Linked DNA regions of Homo sapiens: regions 1, 2 and 4 are each linked to region 3. The links are contacts of gene promoters, found by promoter capture Hi-C in blood cells and fetal thymus (Javierre and others, 2016). All regions are on one chromosome and are shown on one strand. Each heading gives the region's core, a stretch centred on a gene start or on the middle of the fragment in contact. The rest is flanking DNA. Distances are from core to core; before and after follow the strand shown. Region 1 holds the start of RABGGTA (Rab geranylgeranyltransferase subunit alpha). Region 2 holds the start of DCAF11 (DDB1 and CUL4 associated factor 11). Region 3 overlaps CHD8 (chromodomain helicase DNA binding protein 8). Region 4 holds the start of IPO4 (importin 4).

What was found. Contacts are between HindIII fragments. The CHiCAGO score rates a contact against its expected background, and 5 or more counts as called.
Region 1: the fragment with the promoter of RABGGTA here is called in contact with a fragment that was not itself captured in region 3 in 1 of 17 cell types (non-activated CD4 T cells); the score reaches 6.5 in non-activated CD4 T cells.
Region 2: a contact is called between the fragment with the promoter of DCAF11 here and a fragment that was not itself captured in region 3, in 1 of 17 cell types (non-activated CD4 T cells). The highest score is 6.8, in non-activated CD4 T cells.
Region 4: a contact is called between the fragment with the promoter of IPO4 here and a fragment that was not itself captured in region 3, in 1 of 17 cell types (activated CD4 T cells). The highest score is 6.6, in activated CD4 T cells.

What each region holds. Positions count from the first base shown.
Region 1 is chr14:24,270,347-24,273,319 of GRCh38, reverse strand. RABGGTA (Rab geranylgeranyltransferase subunit alpha) reads left to right here and starts at 1,723. Exons shown (of 17, transcript NM_182836.3): 1 at 1,723-1,833; 2 at 2,151-2,207; 3 at 2,373-2,483; 4 at 2,862-2,973. The coding sequence starts at 2,205. It also overlaps a transcript of NOP9 not described here. RefSeq lists enhancers at 1,376-1,455, 2,196-2,405 and silencers at 1,546-1,645, 1,716-2,005. The HindIII fragment of the contact is 2,930 bases long and covers 1,059-2,973 here.
Region 2 is chr14:24,113,509-24,116,570 of GRCh38, reverse strand. It overlaps DCAF11 (DDB1 and CUL4 associated factor 11), which reads right to left and starts at 1,794. Exons shown (of 15, transcript NM_025230.5): 1 at 1,278-1,794; 2 at 822-1,189. The coding sequence starts at 976. NRL (neural retina leucine zipper) reads left to right here and starts at 1,622. Exons shown (of 3, transcript NM_001354768.3): 1 at 1,622-1,849. RefSeq lists enhancers at 1,715-1,864, 2,105-2,244, 1,826-2,541. The HindIII fragment of the contact is 1,852 bases long and covers 535-2,386 here.
Region 3 is chr14:21,432,655-21,435,981 of GRCh38, reverse strand. All of the region lies in intron 1 of CHD8 (chromodomain helicase DNA binding protein 8), which reads left to right. Among named protein-coding and RNA genes, the nearest start is that of CHD8, 22 kb to the left of the region's middle. The HindIII fragment of the contact is 1,326 bases long and covers 1,415-2,740 here.
Region 4 is chr14:24,187,027-24,190,160 of GRCh38, reverse strand. It overlaps IPO4 (importin 4), which reads left to right and starts at 1,345. Exons shown (of 30, transcript NM_024658.4): 1 at 1,345-1,442; 2 at 1,523-1,609; 3 at 1,738-1,817; 4 at 1,904-1,945; 5 at 2,365-2,494; 6 at 2,582-2,761; 7 at 3,011-3,076. The coding sequence starts at 1,374. It overlaps TM9SF1 (transmembrane 9 superfamily member 1), which reads left to right. Exons shown (of 6, transcript NM_006405.7): 6 at 353-1,012. The coding sequence ends at 746. RefSeq lists silencers at 1,774-1,893, 2,139-2,349. The HindIII fragment of the contact is 6,803 bases long and covers 1-2,553 here.

The sequences.
Region 1 (2,973 bases), core at 474-2,973, 2.8 Mb before region 3:
GTAGTCCCAGCTACTCCAGAGGCTGAGGCAGGAGAATCGCTTGAACCCAGGAGGCAGAGGTTGCAGTAAGCAGAGATCGTGCCACTGCACTCCTGCCTGGGCAACAGAGTGAGACCCTGTCTCAAAAAAAAAAAAAAAAAAAATTTAAAGCACTACCTTCTTACCCAGGTGTGAGTTATAAACACACACATGCCACATGGACACACTATTCGCAAAGACATCACACACGTGTACGTGTGGTACACACACACTCACTAGCCACCCTGAACCTCATAAAGGCTCCACCAGAAAACCTTCTTTGCAGTAGGCACAGGGAAAAAAATCACAGTCTTTAAAAGTACATATGAAGGTCTATCAAATCAGACTGGGGCATTTTAGAGAACTTCCTCGAGGTGCCACTTGAGTTACATTTTTTTTTCTTTGTACTGTGGAGTTCAAAAAGTTAAATCTTAAAGATAAACAGGAATTACTGTGGCAAAGGAGGAGTGTGGAGAAAGGAGAGTCAAGAGGGAACAGGCTAACATATTTAGGAAACTGCAAGTATTTCTGTAGGCTGTCATGAAGAGTTTTTGGCAGGGTCAGGCAGGATATACAGCCAGAGAGTAGGCAGAGCCCAAATGCCAATAGGTCTGATGTGCTGAGCTGAGAGATTACAATTCTATCCTGAAAAGGAGCCACTCAGCACTTTTAGGCACAGATATGACGTCAAATCTGCATTTTAGAAAAATGGATTCAGTAGCACAGAGGATGGACTGATAACAAGGGATGAGGTGGAGAACACTGAAAAGACTTTCAACAATCTGGAGAAGAAATTCGGAGTTTGAACTCCTAGTGGCAGTGGGAAGAGAAAGAGTATTTAAGCGAGTTTAAGAAGTGAGGAGGAAATAGTGCCATTCACTACAATAGAAAACATAAAGGCCAATGTTTAGACAGGATGGATGAAAGATAATTTATACCTTTTGGCTTTTGGAGTTTGAGGTGTCTCTGGGACACCAGGTGATATCCAACAGGTGTTTGAATATGTATGTGCATGTATATTATTTATTGTTATTTAAGCTTGCAAGACATCTGGGCTGGAGATATAAATTTGGGTGTCATCAATTTACAGGTAGTAATTAAAACAATGAGTGTGGATGAACTCACCCAGAGAAAGTGTAATGCCAGATTTGTGGGCCAAAACAGCTCTGAGGAGCTCCAACTCGAAGCAGTTGAAGGCTTACATTTAAACATTCTCCCAGGAACAGTGGGTGAAGTGAAAAAGGGGTGAGGAAAGGGCCCTGGAGATCACCAACATTTAGGGGTGGAGGTGAACAGATGAGAAGAGAGAGGCAGAGGTGCAGGAGGAGAAGCCAGAATGGGGGTGTCAAGTATAAAGAAATGGGTAGCGTCAAATGCTTCAGAGGTTAGAGAAAATGACAGGAAACTCCCCCTGTTAGATTTGACATCTAGAAGGCTGTCGGTGTGGCCAGGGTGAGGTCAGTGGAGTAGTGAAGGTGCGGGTTTCCGGCTGTTGGAGAAACCTCTTCCACTAACTACATTGCACTCTGAGTTACCAACTGGCATGGTCCTCCCCCCATTTCACACGCACGCTACAGTCGCCCGTGCGCACTCGTACACACCAGGTGGCTAACAGGTACGAGGCGTTTCCGGACAGCGAGCGCAGAGCCCCCGCGCACGCGCCTCCGAGCCGGCCTCTTCCGCCGCAAGTCCCTCCCCAAGCCTGCAGAGTGCGCTGCGTTTCGATGAGCCGGGACGTGGCGCCGCTCTAGCCAGCGCCTGGGCTCTGTGGCGGGCGCCGCAGCTCCGCGTCCCCCGCGCCTCCTCCCAGCGCAGGTGGGTCCGCCCGCGGGGGGCGGGGGTGCCCGGGAGCCGTGGGACGGGCGGGTAGCGGCAACCTTTGGGGAGCAGAGTGGTCCCCAACGCCCAGGTGCCCCGGCTCGCGCTCTGGCCCGGGCGAATCGGGCTATAGGAAGGGCCACACGGATGGAAGTCCTAGTCCGGGTGCTCACCTCTTGTGGAACGTGCAAAGCCTGTCCCAGGACCTCTTTACACTCTGGGGGTCTCTGCCCAGGCACGCTTGCTGCTTCCGGACACAGCTGTGGGCGGAGCTAGTAGGGGCGGGGCTACGTGATTGACACTTCTCTCCTCAGACTTCAAGGGCTACCACTGGACCCTTCCCCTGTCTTGAACCCTGAGCCGGCACCATGGTGAGAACCCTGAGCCCAGCCCTTCACCTCCGCAGGCCCGCGCCCTCACCCCCAGTGGCAGTGCCATGGTTGCCCCGTATGAACCTAGGGCTCCACAGTGTGGGGTTTTTGCAGGTCAGCTTCTGCAAGGCAACCTGCACTCTTCCAACCCGTTCATCCTTGTAGCACGGACGCCTGAAGGTGAAGACGTCAGAAGAGCAGGCGGAGGCCAAAAGGCTAGAGCGAGAGCAGAAGCTGAAGCTATACCAGTCAGCCACCCAGGCCGTATTCCAGAAGGTGGGGCCCTCAGAGGTAGCCCCGACCCCAAGTAGCTCCCTTAGTATAGTGCAGAGGCCAAGAGCTGGTCCCTAGAGTCAGACTGCCTAGATCCAATTCTGGGTTATCTCACTTATAACTGTATGACTTTGGGCAAGTTGCTGAATCTCTTTGGGCCTCAGTTTGCTCATCTGTAAAATGGGGCTAATAATTGCACCTACTGCATAAGGCTGTTGTGAAGATTAAATGAGAGAATACCTGTAAGGCCATAAAGCATGGTTCATAGTACCTGTTGTATAATGTGGGATTCACAGAATATTGGATGGTTTTAAGTTTACGTTATTTAGTCCTGTAGTGGGAAAATTATATGATCTCTAACCCTGCCACCTATCTTCTTAGCGCCAGGCTGGTGAGCTGGATGAGTCCGTGCTGGAACTGACAAGCCAGATTCTGGGAGCCAACCCTGATTTTGCCACCCTCTGGAACTGCCGACGAGAGGTGCTCCAGCAGC
Region 2 (3,062 bases), core at 545-3,044, 2.7 Mb before region 3:
TCCTTCTGAGCCTCTGCCTGAGAAGTCCACCACAGAAGACAATATTCTAAGCTGGGTGCGGTGGTGTGTGCAACTGTAGTCTTAGCTACCTGGGAGGCAAGGATTGCTTGAGCCCAGGAGTTGCAGGCTGTGGTGTGCACTTGATCACACCTGTGAATAGCCCGTTCTCCAGACTGGGGAACACAGTGAGCCCTGTCTATGTCTACTAAAAACAACACAAAACACAAACAAAAAAGAATACAATATTCTGAAGGGACCCCCAAACCCATCTTCTCCTCAAAGAGCCATAAGCAAAGAAAGAAAGCCAGCTGCACCCTTTTCCAGTCAATTCCAGGTGGTCTCTCCCTTCAAGGCATTCTTTCCTCAAGAACAGGTTAGAGTCAGGGCAAATTAAACTTGTTTTTCAAGTAAATCGAAGTGGCCTCATATCATGTGTCAACTGCCTTACTAAAAAGTTCAACACTCCCTTCCCATCTCTTCACCCCTTACATCACTCCTTTCCCACTAGGACCCCCCCCTTTTTTTTTTCAAGCTTACTTGGAAAATAGACTATATTTGTGTAGTCACAGAGACAGGCTCCCTTGAATAGCCCCTCAAACACATGAGCAGGTCCTCTTGGTGACCCTCCCTAGGTAAGAACCACTCTTACTGGGTATGGAGCTGAGTGCCATGGGTGCCCAGCAGGGAAAGGCTGTTCAGCTCAAACAGAACAGCTGTCCTGAGCGAATCCCATTTCCTAACCTCTGTAATTTTCCTGCCTGGAGTTGGGATCAAGGCACTGTGGTAGCACCTGCTGGGGGTCACACCAGAGGGTAAGTTACCTGCGGAGGAGATAGGCCAGTACCTGGGCCAGATCCACATCTTCATCCTCTTCTTCCTCTTCCTCACTCCGACGCAGGCCAGCCCCTCTTCGGGGCAAGCCCTCGGAGGGGTCTCCGGACCCGGATCCTGCACTGCTGCTGTTCCGCGATCCCATCTTCTGGTCACAGCATTCTTAGGTCCTGTGCGGGGGCTCCTCCTGTCACCTCCTTGGGTTTGGTGAAAGCAAAGCGTGCTCTAGAAATACCAGGGTCTCCTGAGACGGGGTAGTAGCTATCTCTAGGAGGGTGACCCTTCCTCGGGGCTGAGATCCCTTTTCTTTAGCCTATGCCAACTACCAAGGCGTCGGGAACACAAACCTTCTCCAATCCTGTGAAGCAAAGAAAGCAAGAGTGAACCGTAGTGCGCTACCCTAGCTCACCAACTGAAGAAAGATTTGTTTTCTACACCAAACTCACCTATCGAAGTCCCCGGACTGGGGAGCGGGAGGGGTGTTGGGCGGTGTTGGATTTCCAGGTAACCTCTCTGACCGACCAATCGAAATCCCTCTCGGAAGAAAGCGCTTCACTAGCTTATCTCATCTAACCAATTAGAAGCCTTAGGACTCAAAGACCCTCGACGCCCCCACCTTATCGACCAATCAGAGCGCCCCCTTACAAAGGCCGGCAGCAGTGACAGCCAATGAAAATAGAATTTGGCCTAACACCCCTCCTTCCTCGCCTCACGCCCACGTGGTGCGCCGGGGGTGTGTACGCCATGAGGGGGAGGAAGCCGAGAAGCACCTCCCACTGAAGCCGGCGGTAACCGCCCCACGCGAGACCACCCACCAGCCAGGAGCGGTCGCAGGACCCGCAGCGGCGCGAGGCCTTGTTTACACCGACTGCCGCCACTGCGTTGGCCAACCGCTCCTCCGTCACGCGCTTCGCTCGTCACGCATCTCGCGGCTTCCTGGCCGGCGGGCTGCAAACGTCACACGACGGCCCCGCCCCCTTGGCCAGCCAACTGGACAGCGGAGCACGATGATTGATAGGTAGGCGGGAGAATGCGCGAGGTGCCTGAGGGGAGGAGAAAGTGCACACCCAAGGAGGGCTGTTAGCTCTTGCTGGGGAGGAGTAAGTGGGAACTGCCAGCTTCCTGAATCAGAGACAGCCGAACTAGGCGTAACGGCTGAGAGGCGGGGCTTAAAAAAGAAACGTTTGGTGGTTCGCTACCGAGAGGTATTTTAGCAAGGGATATAATTTACTGTCTGTCCCTAAAGATCATTTGGCATCGCACTTTTCAGACAGTGCCCAAGGGCCTCCTTTCTCCCCACTGCTTCCCCTGTCCAGCTGGAGCCGTTCTTCTGTCGCTGGCCGCAGCTCCAGTCGGTTCTGCCCTAAGGGGTGCCCAGCGTCCCAGTAGACCTCCATACCGTCCTTCCGGGCTTAGCTTTTGGAAGCCTTGCTCTTGGGACGGTCCCCTTTTAGACCTCCCTTTATCCGGTCTGACAATTTTTTAAGACAATCCCTGGCTTTCCGCCGCGGTCTTTGCAGACGTTCCCTAATACACGCGTCTTTCTGTCAAAGCTTTTCCGGTTCCGCTGTCCCCTTTGACGCTCCCTTGGCCCTCCGGGATTTGCAGACCTTCGCTAGTCCCTCTGTCCTCGCGGTGCCTCTCCGCCCCCGGCCGCGGGTCCAGGGTGCGCGCTCGCCGCCTCCTGCCCCCTCCTGCCCCCTCCTGCGGGTTTATGAGTAACAAGCCTGAGTCCAAGGCCGGGAGTTGCCACATCTCTGATCCTCGCCCTGGCTGGGTGGGGACGTGTGGGTTGAATGACCTTGCTGTCTCGGGCTCAGAGGCTCAGGGTCCGAGCTGAACTTCATTCCCTGCAGCCTGCACTTCCTTGGGAAAGCTGCGAGCTTCCCTCCGCCCGCTCCTGAGGGCAGGGATGGGAGCGAGGGCTCGTGGCCTTCTTGGGCCCTCCTGGGGCCTCTCCCAGTGAGGGCGAGGGTTTGGCCAGCTTTCGGGCGACGTCTCCTAGTCTCTAGATCCGGAGACCTGAGCTTGTCACCAGGGCTAGCTTTGATGGCCTCTGCGCTTAGAAGGGTCCTGAATGTTTGGTTTAATGTTCTAGTGTTAACGGTCTTGAAATTATTAGTAATTTTAAAGCAAGTGCCTGGTATTTTCATCTTGCACTCGGCTCCACTGATTATGTAGGCGGTCTGCTGGGCGCCCATCCTCTATTGCCAGATTACTTACTATCTGTG
Region 3 (3,327 bases), core at 828-3,327:
CAGAACTAATCTCTTGCAGTGTTTCTCATCCATCATAAACAGTAAATGATGATAAACTCCTTTTGAGAGGCTATAGGAAATCTTATCCCATCCCAAAGATACTGGTAACTCTGCCAAGCCAGGAATGTTTCTTTCTCTGCCCTCTACTCCTCACGTGTCTTTTACAGATCTTCACTGGCCAAGAAGGCTTTGTCCAGTGTTAATAAATATAAATAGCCTAAACAATGAGATGTAGTTTTTTCACTTGATAAATATAAAATTATAATATTGAATACACCTTTAAGAACTGCACATTTATCTCCACCCTCGGTTCCCAGAAGCCCTTCTTAAGGGCCTTAGTCTCCATCCCCTGGTTGAGAATCACTGCTTTGTTGAAAGGTATGGAGAGATTGAGATGGAAAAATATAGGGTAGAATTAAAACAAAATACTTTATCATAGGACAGACAGTTTATTATAGAAATGGGCAAGGGTGAGGAATAATGTCAAATAAGAATGAGAGAGTTGGGACTCTAGATTTCCAAAAAAATCAAGAACTGTATTAAAGGTGGTAAAGCTGCAGAAGAACATCAGTTTGTACTTGTCTCAAGGGGAAGCAGTAGTTTCACCTTTAAGAAGGAGATGAAGTGAAGGGCTATACTGGCATATATAATAAAGTATTTTTCTACAGGTAACTGTATTGTTACTTGGCGATTATAGATAGATGGGCTTGGATTTTAACCTTAACTGACTAGTTTGTTACTTTTCCCTTCCACTGCCATCCCTCACCCCCTACATGCCCTCCAAGATTTCTGTCATGATTCTGGTCATTAGTTTGTAATTATGGAAAGTGACTAAGTACAACCACTAAGTTTTGTCTTTCCTTTTGAGCACATACATGTGTTTCTCTTTTGGGGACTGGTGGGCCAACACTGGCTTTTCATTCTTAATATGATAAAAGTTGGTGTGACTTCTTTATCTAGGCAGTTACTTTGCATTGAAACCAACTTAACATCTGTTCATTTTTGCTATTAGGGTTTGAATCAAGGAAAGAGAATTCATGAGATGGTTGAGAGGATTCATGAGATAGATGAGCTTGGTAGAATAAATAGGCCGTATGTGGATATAGCCAGGGTGACCCACAAGTAGTAGTAGAAGGAGGGTTAAAAAAAGTTAGATGTATGTTGGGAGAAGGTTTAATCTTGTAAGAGTCAAGGACAGTTTAAAGATAGGAACTAGAAAAGAAGTAGGAAACTAGCATAAAAATATGAGATGAATTGGGTCAGTATAGGTGAGAATGATGGGACTGAGAAGTAATGATACTTGGTGGCAAGGTTTTTGAATTATTAGGCATAGACCGAACTAGAAGAAGCAGAAATTTGGTTCGAAAATTGGGAAGGGAGAGATAAATGACAATGCATTGATCTTTAAAAAGCTTATACTAAGTCATATGGGGGTAAGGAGATTCATCAGAAACCATCAGCCTTGTTTCTCCTATTTAAAAAAAAAAAAATCTGGGCCTAAGATTGGATCATTATGGGGGAAAGGAAGAGCATTAGAATTAACAAATAGCAAGGAATCATGGAAGCGACAAAATACTCCATGGAATAAGGAGCAGGCTATAAACTATTTGCAACGTAAACTTCTGGTTAGTAGAAACTTTCAGCGTGGTGGCTCATGCCTATAATCCCAGCACTTTGGGAGGCTGAGGCGACGGCTCACCTCTGAAGTCGAGAGTCCGAGACCAGTCTGACTAACGTGGCGAAAACCTGTCTCTACTAAAAATACAAAATTAGCCGAGTGTGGTGGCGCAGGCCTGTAATCCCAGCTATTCGGGAGGCTGAGGCAGGAGAATCGCTTGAACCCAGGAGGTAGAGGTTGCGGTGAGCCGAGATCGCGCCATTGCACTCCAGCCTGGGCGACAAGAGTGAAACTCTGTCTCAGAAAAAAAAAAAAAAAAAAAAAGAAACTTTCACTGTTGTTTTTATATTACTCCTAGCTGTAGATACTTTAACTTCTGACGGTGAGTAGAGAATGAAAAATAATTGGTGCCAAAGTAGGTATACTGGAAAAAAGCTGATGATAATGGGAAGGAAATTTATTAATATCAAGTTATTGAGTAGGTTTTCGTTAAATCAGGAAGCATTCATAACTTTCCTGATTGCCATTTTGAGTAATTTGGAGGCAAATATTAGATATGAGAGGCTGGAATGAGCTGGTGGAATAGGCTAGCCAGGAATGGGAGATGGTATGGATCTTGGGTTGAGATATGAAAAGTATGCAATTACTGAAGCAAGGACGATCTTGTTTAACATTGTTGGAGATACCATGTATACTTTGTAATTTTGACTCACGTGTTTGTTCTCTTTGTCTGTTTTGGAGTATCTGATATATTAACCCATATTATATTGTTTTATAAGGATAAGTGAGATGGGTTGGGAAGGAAAAAACATAGCATGGGGGTTATATGGAAAAGTCTCCTTCAGTCAGGACTGTGCCTCTGACAAATTTCTTATCTGGTGTCTTCCAAAAGTTAGGAGAAATGGTCTTACCAAGCAAGACTTTCCTGTATTGTCAAATACTGTCATCATATACAAAGAACAGATATTTCTTTTTCATATATTTGGGTTTTATGGTGATATACTTCCCTGTCTTTGATAGCTTTTCTTTTTTCCACTAGTTTCATGAACTTAAAACCCTAGACATGGATTTTGTGAACCTACTTTCAGCCATTCATAAGACATGTTTTCAAGATAGGAAGCTTTTTACCATCTCATGTTAGAATCAAAGGATACCATTTAGTTTCTGTGAGGATCGAATGGTTTACTCCAGATAATGCGAGCAAGTATAATTCATTAACTGTTTTTTGATTAGCTACTATATGTGCTATGTCCTGCTGGTTCTTAGGGGATCCACAGATAAATAAAACATAGTCCCCACCATCCAAGAACTTTCTCCCAGAGAAAGAGGAGCTGGGCCATGGTACAGAGTTGTGGAGGGTGTACATTGCATACATTCATAACAAATTTTTATATATTTAGTATGGCAGTTTTCCAGGCATCTTGAGAAGTGGGCAACTTTTTACAATTTGCGCAAAGGAACCATTTGGGCCTTCAGAGGATATATTACAGACTTAGGTCATTATAATAAAATATTAAATATAAGTGTTTTAAGGTATAAACAATGGTGTGGGTATTTAAAGGAGGTGGAGGGATCAAGTCATCACAAGTTGCTCAGTTGTTAAAGCGTCAGAGGTTCAGGGCTCACTTAATGGAGTAGAAGACCTTTGAGGGTTGGTAGGATTTTAGCTGCGAGAGATTATTGGCATTGGGATGGAGAGGACGTGTTCC
Region 4 (3,134 bases), core at 96-2,595, 2.8 Mb before region 3:
CTTCCTGGTTTCTGACTTTAATGCCTATGGACATCATGTGGGGTTTAAAGCCCATTTGATGACCCATTTACTTTGTTGAATACCTCTTTGTGCCAGGCAAAGAATAAAGTGGAATAAAATGGACAAGATCCCTGCCCTCAATCTATTAGGGAAGATATTCTTGAAGTGAGAGCGGCTAATCATAGGCAAAAAATCCCCATGAAGCCAGGAGATCTGGGGCAGAGAGTGGAGTGAACTCACTTTTCACAATGACCCAGCAACATGGGAGAGGGTGGGGGCTGGATTTCAGCCCAGCCACTGTGCTGATGGTGCACAGCCCTTTAATGCTGTGTATCATCTCTTTTCTTCACAGTGCCATCTCTGTGGAGCTGTACTACATCTTTGCCACAGTATGGGGTCGGGAGCAGTACACTTTGTACGGCATCCTCTTCTTTGTCTTCGCCATCCTGCTGAGTGTGGGGGCTTGCATCTCCATTGCACTCACCTACTTCCAGTTGTCTGGGGAGGATTACCGCTGGTGGTGGCGATCTGTGCTGAGTGTTGGCTCCACCGGCCTCTTCATCTTCCTCTACTCAGTTTTCTATTATGCCCGGCGCTCCAACATGTCTGGGGCAGTACAGACAGTAGAGTTCTTCGGCTACTCCTTACTCACTGGTTATGTCTTCTTCCTCATGCTGGGCACCATCTCCTTTTTTTCTTCCCTAAAGTTCATCCGGTATATCTATGTTAACCTCAAGATGGACTGAGTTCTGTATGGCAGAACTATTGCTGTTCTCTCCCTTTCTTCATGCCCTGTTGAACTCTCCTACCAGCTTCTCTTCTGATTGACTGAATTGTGTGATGGCATTGTTGCCTTCCCTTTTGCCCTTTGGGCATTCCTTCCCCAGAGAGGGCCTGGAAATTATAAATCTCTATCACATAAGGATTATATATTTGAACTTTTTAAGTTGCCTTTAGTTTTGGTCCTGATTTTTCTTTTTACAATTACCAAAATAAAATTTATTAAGAAAAAGGCTCATGCAGTTGGAGGTTTTGGTCTGGATATAGGAACTCGAGCCCTGCTGTTAAGGGCACGGTCCTTTATAAAGCCGAGCTGGCCACTGAATGCCCGAAGCTCGAGTTCTCCAACCCAGCTTGGGAACTCCCGGCGTGGGGAACCTACATTGCCAGAGTCGGGTTTCCGCGATTCAGCCGGTGCTCAGCCTAACGGAAGTGGAGGAGCCGGACCTCTTTGTGGGAAGCGAATTGAATCACCTTGGCAACCCGCGGGGCGTGCAGCAACGCCCTTTCCTCCGGAAGTGGGTGTCAGAACCTCCACGTGCTGTCCCTCCCCCTCCCCTTTTCGGCCCAGTAGCGGCGGCTCAGTTGCTGCCATGGAGTCAGCCGGGCTAGAGCAGCTCCTACGGGAGCTGCTGCTACCGGACACCGAGCGCATCCGTCGGGTACGGAGCAGGCGTAACCGGGCCAGGGCGAGCGGGAGGTTGCGGGAAAGGCCCAACTCTCACCCCTAGCTTCCCCCCAGGCCACGGAACAGCTCCAGATCGTTCTTCGGGCCCCCGCCGCTTTGCCGGCTCTCTGCGACCTGCTAGCCTCGGCGGCCGACCCCCAGGTGAGACCCCTGACTCTCCCCTCCGAGCTTCCCACTGTACGCCACCGGTCAAGCCCCAGTATTCGCCCACTGCGGTCCGCTCAGCACCTTCCTGCCCGGACCCCCACGTGCTTGCTTCCTCGTCCTAGATCCGCCAGTTTGCGGCCGTGCTGACCCGCAGACGACTGAACACCCGCTGGCGACGGCTGGCGGCGGAGCAACGGGAGAGGTGGGCTGGGCCTGGGGTGGGGCGGGGCCAGGCGGAGACTTTTCTTGGGCAGGCTGGGTACCAAACACCTGCCACCTGTGTTCCAGCCTCAAGTCCCTGATCCTGACGGCCCTGCAGAGAGAAACAGAGTAAGTACCTACCCACTTCTCTCGGGATCTTGACGACTTTGTCTAGGTTTCTGCCTTCCTTTTCGGCTCCAGGCTGGGACTTGTGGGGCAGGGACTTCAGTTCTAGACGCAAGGTGGAGTGAGGATTTTAAGGCTGTTTTGAAGACTAAAGTTCTTGAGGAAGGGTGATGATGATCTGCCAAACCCAAGTCAGAAGAATAAGACTGAAATTCAGGCTAAGTTAGACTGAACTTACCAGATTACATGCCCACAGTGCTGTTGGGCTCCCTCTGAGCTGCTGTCTCATGTGTCCCAACTTGGCAAAGACCCTGTGCCCACACCTCCTGAAAGTTTCTGTCCTGGCTGCCCCATTGAGCCTGGCCACTGTGTGCAGAGGAAGGTATTGAAGGGTGATTGGAGGAGATCTCTCCTGTTTGCAGGCACTGTGTGAGCCTCAGCCTGGCCCAGCTCTCAGCCACCATTTTTCGAAAGGAAGGCTTGGAGGCCTGGCCACAGCTTTTGCAGCTGCTTCAGCACAGTACCCACAGCCCCCACAGCCCAGAGAGAGAGGTACCATCACATGGTTGGCAGGAGGGAGGGCCTGAGAGGCTGGATAGACCTTGTAAGCTTGCTCTCCCATCCTCTATTCTTGGACAGATGGGGCTTTTGCTGCTAAGTGTGGTGGTGACCTCCCGGCCCGAGGCCTTCCAACCCCACCACCGGGAGCTTCTTCGGCTTCTGAATGAGACTCTTGGTGAGGTGGGCTCTCCTGGGCTGCTCTTCTACTCCCTGCGCACTCTGACCACCATGGCTCCCTACCTCAGCACTGAAGATGTGGTGAGATGTGGGCCCTCGTTATCTTTGACTCCCTTTCCTCATGCCTTCATGTCCTCACCCGTAAAAGTTACAAAGCTGCTTTGGATTCTTTACCTGCCTGTGGCCCTTCCTGACAATTGAGAGGGGATGCTGTAGGTGGGCCTGGCTGTTATGCCTGGGCTCCTCCTCGCAATTCAGGCTGTGAGGAAGCTGCCAGCTGCTGGGGTGTGAGATTGGGCTGCATCATGCTCTCTGTGATGTGTCCCTCAGCCTCTCGCTCGGATGTTGGTGCCCAAGCTGATCATGGCCATGCAGACTCTGATCCCCATAGATGAGGTGAGGACAGGTGGGCAGGAGCTCTGTTGGAAGGAGAGTGCAGAAGTGTCCAGTTTGG